Linked DNA regions of Homo sapiens: region 2 is linked to region 1. Evidence: promoter capture Hi-C in 16 types of primary human blood cells and fetal thymus (Javierre and others, 2016). All regions are on one chromosome and are shown on one strand. Each heading gives the region's core, a stretch centred on a gene start or on the middle of the fragment in contact. The rest is flanking DNA. Distances are from core to core; before and after follow the strand shown. Region 1 holds the start of FMNL1-AS1 (FMNL1 antisense RNA 1). Region 2 holds the start of NMT1 (N-myristoyltransferase 1).

The links. Contacts are between HindIII fragments. The CHiCAGO score rates a contact against its expected background, and 5 or more counts as called.
Region 2: a contact is called between the fragment with the promoter of NMT1 here and the fragment with the promoter of FMNL1-AS1 in region 1, in 1 of 17 cell types (neutrophils). The highest score is 5.4, in neutrophils.

Annotation. Positions count from the first base shown.
Region 1 is chr17:45,240,520-45,243,019 of GRCh38, reverse strand. It overlaps FMNL1-AS1 (FMNL1 antisense RNA 1), which reads left to right and starts at 1,250. Exons shown (of 3, transcript NR_186808.1): 1 at 1,250-1,909; 2 at 2,416-2,500. It overlaps FMNL1 (formin like 1), which reads right to left. Exons shown (of 27, transcript NM_005892.4): 12 at 2,395-2,500; 13 at 1,790-1,891; 14 at 1,386-1,638; 15 at 874-1,173; 16 at 555-679. RefSeq lists an enhancer at 1,140-1,858. The HindIII fragment of the contact is 17,531 bases long and covers 1-2,500 here.
Region 2 is chr17:45,059,483-45,063,989 of GRCh38, reverse strand. NMT1 (N-myristoyltransferase 1) reads right to left here and starts at 2,673. Exons shown (of 12, transcript NM_021079.5): 1 at 2,530-2,673. The coding sequence starts at 2,660. It also overlaps a transcript of DCAKD not described here. RefSeq lists enhancers at 2,233-2,312, 2,255-2,549, 2,403-2,762, 1,910-2,901, 2,863-3,042 and 1 more. The HindIII fragment of the contact is 9,198 bases long and covers 735-4,507 here.

The sequences.
Region 1 (2,500 bases), core at 1-2,500:
GGCCACCAGCAGAGAACCAGTAACCCAGCCTGACCACAGGCCCTGATGGGAGGCACAGGGGAAGCACAGGGAGCCTGGAGGAGGAGGGCCGCCTAACCCGGGGGATCCAGACTTGGGGCCACAAGAGCTAAAGGAAGAGCTGAACTGGCCAGCGGTAAAAAGGAGAAAGGAAAAGACATTCCAGGCAGAGGAAACAGAATGGAACAATGGCCTAGAGGCAAGAGAATACATCCTTTTGGAAAACTGGAAGTGGAATCAGGAGGGCTGAAGCCTTGGCTGCCTGTGGGAAAGTGGAAGGAAAGAGGCCTGGAGGCAGAAGAAGTGGGGTGAGGGGAGGCACCCCTCTGCAGGGATGGAGGGGAAGGCGTTTGGGAAAGCAGGATTCTGCCTGTTAGAGGTATTGGTCCAGTCTGGCTTAATGCCCATCCCTGGGCCTCCCCCTCCTCATCTGTGAAATGGCTTGGAGAAAATGACTACCCCCAGGGCCCAGCCTGATCCAGGCAACTCCCCTCTTCCTCCGGTGCCCACATGGGGAGCCAGGCAGGGCCACTCACCTGCAGCACCTTCTCATCATTGAGCTCTGTGAAGACAGTGCCGGTGATCTGGCTGGGTTTCAGTGCCACCCAGTTCAAGAGTGGCATTCGGAACTTAGTCTGGATGGGCTTCTTGGCCTTCACTCCTGGGACGGGGGTTTGGGGGCAGTGGTGAGCACTGGGGGTACTACTGGAGGGAACCTGGGCCCAGGGAGGGCTGATGGGGCAGCCAGGAGGCAGCAGGAGGCCCCCAGGCAGAGGACCCTGGAGGACACTGAGGCCCAGGCCCCTCCCTCCATCTCCCCCCAGCCCCGGGCCCAAGGTGGTCCACTCCACTCACCTGGGCCCAATTCTGAGTCGCGTCTTCCTAGGGCATCAGGAGGACCTCCGGGAGGCGGCGGCGGCGGCGGCGGCGGCGGAGGCACCGGCCCGTCAGTGCCCGGAGGTGGTGGCGGTGGCGGGGGTGGGGGCGGCAGGTCTCCGGGCAGCGGCGGCGCAGGCGGGGGCTCCGGGCTGCCAGGGAGAGGCGGGGCCTGTGGGGGCGCAGAGGGCGGGGCTTCCTGCGGGGAGGGGAGGCCGGGCAGTGGGGGCGGCGGCGGTGGCGCTGCTCCGGGAGCCGGCTCTGCTGCAGGTGCGAGATCTGAGCCAGCGAGGGCGCGGCGTGGGGGAGGCGCGAGTCAGCTCCTTGACTTGGGTGGGCCCCTCTCCGCCTCTCCGCTCTACGCATGCGCTCCTACCTGAGCCGAGCCTACAATCCAAACCTCCCTCGCCCAACTCTGCCCGCCACAGATGCCCCTGGGCTCCCCTCCAGACCCTGCCCCGCATCCCCGCCAGCCTGAAGCTCCTGCGCACCTGGGCTGGGGGAGCCGGTCGGCACCCCCGGAGTCGGAGCATCACCGCCGCTCGGAGTTGCCACAGCGACGGGGAGGATCTCGATGGAGACAGCATCCCCCGGCCCCCGCAGAATACGGATTAACCCCTTCTCCTCCAGCTCCTCCACCTTCAGCTCCAGGGCCGAGGGCCGCGTCGGGGCAGCGGGAGGCGCTTTCTCAGGCTCTGGGGGACGCCTGGAGGGCCCCATGGCGGTCGATTCGCTGAAGCGCTCCTACGAACCCCACGGGAGGGGTCAGTGCCCACCAGCAGGCTCCTTGGCACCAAGCCTCCATCTTCTTCCCGGGGTGGAGGGAGATGTCAAGCCTAGAAGCCTCAGCTGGCCTGTTCTTGGGCGCCTGGCCTACCACCCGCCCCAGCCTCACCCGCAGGGTCTCCAACTCCTTGCGCGCCTGGCTTAGCTGTTTTTCCAGTTCTGCAATCTTGGCCATGGATTCGTTCTCCGCGTCCCGAAGCCGCTCTGTCAGCTGTAGCACCAGCACATGGTGAGCCCCGACCCGCAGCCCGGCACTGGCACCGCCGGTGAGGGGGCGGCATCAGGCATGCCTGCCTGGAAGACTGGGGGAGGCTCCCAGATCCGCTCAGCCCAGGTGCCAAGGGTGGGCCGAGCCTGGCACTCGAACCCAAGCAAATAAGGAGAGGAAACCAAGGTACCAGTGATGCGGGAGGTGGAGGGAGAGGAGGAGACTGAGCTGGGAGGGGCCCCAGGCACCCATTTCAGTTCACCTGGGGTCTGAGCCTGGGTAGAGGAGGGGCCTGTCAGTGAGGGTGCTCACCCACACTCATTGAGAAAGACACCCAACAGATTCAGGCTTTGGATTCAGGCCAGGCTCTGGGGCCAGGCAGGCAGCACCTCCAATGCACAATTATAACACTGTCTGCTGCCCAGTGCCCATGCTTGCGTGGCCCTGTGGCCCGTGTGCCCTGTGGGCCTATGATGTGCTGGGCTGGGGTCAGGACCCACTCTCACCAGCGCCACTTGCTCCTGCAGTTCCTCCATGTGCTCCAGCACAGCGTTCTTGGTCTCTGTGTCCTCCAGCAGCGCCCCCACATCAAAAATATTGTCCAGGTACGCC
Region 2 (4,507 bases), core at 1,424-3,923, 180 kb after region 1:
TGGTCTCAATCTCTTGACCTCGTGATCCACCCGCCTCGGCCTCCCAGAGTGATGGGATTACAGGCATGAGCCACTGTGTGCCACTTTTTTTTCTGAGACAGGGCTTTGCTCTATTGCCCAGGCTGGAGTGCAGTGGTGCAATCTCAACTCACTGCAGCCTCCACCTCCCAGGTTCAAGTGATTCTCCTGCCTCAGTCTCCGGAGTAGCTGGGACTATAGGCGTACGCCACCATGCCCAGCTAAATTTTGTATTTTTAGTGGAGACGGGGTTTCACCATGTTGGCCATGCTGTTCTCGAACTGCTGACCTCAAGTGATCCACCTGCCTCGGCCTCCCAAAGTGCTGGGATTACAGGTGTGAGCTACCACGCCAGGCCAATAAAATAACTTTCTGGCACACAGTTTTGAAAAGTGATTCACAGATTATAGGGCACAAACCTAAGGACACTGGTCAGGACAACAGTTAAGAAGATAAAAATAAAAGCAACTACAAAAAGAGCAAAGAAAATGCCACACTTTCACTTCTGGAATGACTTTCACATTCACCAACTCTCATCTGTGATTCAGATCTCTACTCAGGAGAGCTTCACTTTCCCTTCTTCCTGTTCCTACTTCCTCTTTCTCAGCTCTTCCATTTTTAGGAATATCAAACTTCAAAAGAAGACTTTTATTACATTAGATCTGTTGTGAGTTACAGCAACAGAACAGTCTTATAAAAACTAAATTTGGCAAGCTTCCTATTCCTCTACTTTCTTCCTGTGATTTTTTTTTTTTTTTTTTTTTTTTGAGTCGGAGTCTCGCTCTGTCGCCCAGGCTGGAGTGCAGTGGCGTGATCTCAGCTCACTGCAAGCTCTGCCTCCTGGGTTCACGCCATTCTCCTGCCTTAGCCTCCCGAGTAGTTGGGACTACAGGCGCCCGCCACCACGCCCGGCTAAATTTTTTGTATTTTTAGTAGAGATGGGATTTCACAGTGTTAGCCAGGATGGTCTCGATCTCCTGACCTCGTGATCTGCCTCCCAAAGTACTGGGATTACAGGCATGAGCCACCATGCCCGGCCCTTCCTGTGATTTTTAATGCCGGCTGAAGAACATAAAAGCTAGATCTTTTAACCTAAGATTTACCACAAGCAGATTATAAACCACTTAAATACAGTCATGCTTCACTGAACGTCAGGCATATGTGCTGGGAAATGCATGGTTAGGTGATTTTTGCCTTGCCAACATTATAGGGTGTACTTACACAAATCTAGATGGTATAGCCTACTAAATGCCTAGGCTATATGGTGTACATTACAGTAACATGCTATACAGGTTTGTAGCCTAGGAGCAATAGGCTGCTGCATGTTACTGAGTACTGCAGGCAACTATAATACAATGGTAAGTATTTGTGTATCTAAGCATACCTAAACATAGAAAGGATACAATAAAAATATGTACTATAATCTTGTGGGACCATCTCTTCTACGCAGTCCTTGGTCTTTATACCTTTATATCTGCACTGCCACCAATACTGCGAATAACAAGCTGGCTACGAAAATCAGACTACCTCAGACTCAGCAAGTTATACACCCAAAAATCTCTCACGACTTTCAGTTTAAAAATATATCTACAAATATAGACAGGAAGATGGGGAGAGACAGCGTGAGTGCCAGTGCCAGGCACTAACCATGTGAAGAAAGATGAATAAGCTGTGGCTTACAGAAGTAAAAACTAATTTGGGAAAAGAATTCAACATTCAAATGCCTGGTGTGTTTCTTCATCCCTAGGAACAAATAGTAACTAATGGCAAGACCCTAAAGTACAGGATAGGCAGTATGGAGCCCGAGGATTCCAAATACTCTCCAAGAAACAACATCGCTCATTTCTTGAAGCCTGGGGCTGCTCTGCAAAGGTAACAAGGCAAAGATGTTCGAAGACTTAATTATATTAATATATCGTTCAGGATACTTATGGATTATTTGGAGCAATGGAAACTATGTAAATCAAAGCATTACCATACCGTTAATTACATAGGTTTATAAGGTGAGTTTATATTTTGGGATTCTCTGGTAGTGATATTTTACAATATAATTATACATACAGTTTGTATAGTCTGATGAGTTTCCTCACTGAGGGTGAACTGCTGCGAAATGTTTTATGATTCGTTTATTGCTAGTCACGTTGTTCAAACAACACGTCTATAAGTAACGTTCCCTTTGAACTGTACTGTTACTAGACTGTCCTGTGTTGTACCATCGAAAACCATCGTCCAACATGCTCTTTTCCCAGGAATGGCCTGAAGCACACGAGTGGAACACTGCATAGAACTTTTATATAATAAAAGTACTGAACGTCTCCGGCCCTTAATATCCAGAGCACCCACCCTTGGTAAATGACAAAGGCAATAACCAATCGCCAGGCAGAATCCTAGTGACTTAGCCAATAAGAACATGAGGGTGGGGCTAGACTAAGCTCCCGGTGACTTCCCCGCACCCCAGAGACCCAGGTTGTGGGAGGCTGGACGGGAATTGGACTCCGAGGATTTCGTTACCCCCGGTTGTAGCTGTTGTCCTCCTCATTCTCGCAATCGCTGCAGTGCTCATGGCCGTTCCCGTTCCCTTCCATCATCTGCGGCAGCGGAGGTGCCGGCGGCTTCACTGCTGTCTCACTCTCGTCCGCCATCTTGAGTTGCGAGAGCAGGGCTCCGCGCCCCACTACATGGGGGGTTCCTATTGGACAAGGGGAATTTGCGCTGCATTCTGGGTTTTGTAGTTTTTCTGGCGAAGCGAGCTGCCACTAGGAGCGACTCTTTCCCAGGAAACTGACTACAATACCCAGGAATCACGAGGGACGGCTCCGGTCGGATTAAGAGGCGGGGCCACTGATACCCGGAAGCCTAGGCATTCGGCCACGCTTTGAGGAAAGAAGGGGCGCAAGGTTGGTGGGACCGACCCTTGGGAACCGGGCGGCCGCCTGGCATGATGGGAGTTGTAGTTCGATGCTGGTTTAGGGTTTCAGGCGTGGAGGTTCCAAAATCCGAGGTTTGATTTCAGCCTGCCCTTGCCAGTGCCTGGGCCGCTGGGAGCCGTTATTGGCTGCCGTTAAGGACCGTTACGTTTCCCGGGTAAGTGAAAGGGCCTGAGGCCCGCGGGTGCTACCTGCCTGGAGCCGGAATGCCCCAGGCCTTCTTAGAGTGGGCTTTTCCGCAAGAAGCCTAGTTGACTCCTGGCCGCCTTCCTCACTCGGGAGTCTGGGCAACCTGCGGTCATTGGCAGTTCAAGGTCTCATGAGAGGCAGTGGATTTTTTTGTGCGAAGCACTGACCCTAAGCCAGGAGACCACACTGCTAGGGAGGCAGGGCTCGCCGCCTCATCTTGGCCTCCAGGTACTTATCTTCGCCAAGCTCTTTCGCGCACACGTGGTCCCTTTAATTCCCCACAAGAATTTTCCACAACGACCCTTTTTTTCTTTTCTTTTCTTTCTTTCTTTCTTTTTTCTTTTTTAAATACGGCCGCCTTCTGTCGCCCAGGCTGGAGCGCAATGGCTCAAGATCACAGCTCACTGCAATCAAGGTATCCTCCCACCTCAGCCTCCCAAGTACCTAGGACTATAGGCATGAGCCACCACACCCGGATAATTTATATATTTTTTGTAGAGACGAGGGTCTCGCCTTGTTGCCCAGGCTGGTCTCGAACTCCTGGCCTCTAAGGATCTTCCTACCCCAACCCCGCAAAGTGCTGGGATTACAGACGTGAGCCACGGCACCCAGCCCACATCAACTCTTTCTTTAATAAGTGCCAGACTCTGTAGTAAGGCATTTCGTACATTATCTCATTTAATCCTCTCAACAAGTCTACAATATAGGTCCTATTATTATTATTCAACCTTTGTTTTGTTTTGTTTTGTTTTGAGACGGAGTCTCTCTCTGACTCCCAGGCTGGAGTGCAGTGGTGCGATCTCGGCTCACTGCAACCTTCGCCTCCTGGGTTCAAGCGATTCTCTTGCCTCGGCCTCCTGAGTAGCTGGGATTAAAGGCGCACGCCACCACACCTGGCTAATTTTTGTATTTTTAGTAGAGACGGGGTTTCACCATGTTGGTCAGGCTGGTCTCGAACTCCTGACCTCGTGATCTGCCCATTTCGGCCTCCCAAAGTGCTGGGATTAGAGGTGTGAGCCACCGTACCTGGCCATATTGACCTTTTTGACAGATGAAAAAATGTGGCCCTGAGAGGTTGGTAAATTGCACAGTCACATAGCTGGTTAAGTGGCAAATCGGTATACAAATCCAGATCTGTGTGCCCCAGGCCCTCTGAATTCTTTGCCACCATAAAAGTCCCATTTTCTGATACACTATTCACTCAAGGAAATCAGTTACTAAAAGGTAACTGTGACTCCAGTGCGTATTCTATATCAGGGGAAAAAAGGTAACTGCCACATTTTAATCTGTTTTTAACCTTGATTGAATGTTTCAGTCCCTGAGTCTCACTCTTTTGATTGAGTAATCTCGCCTAAGTGCCCAAAGACATGGTT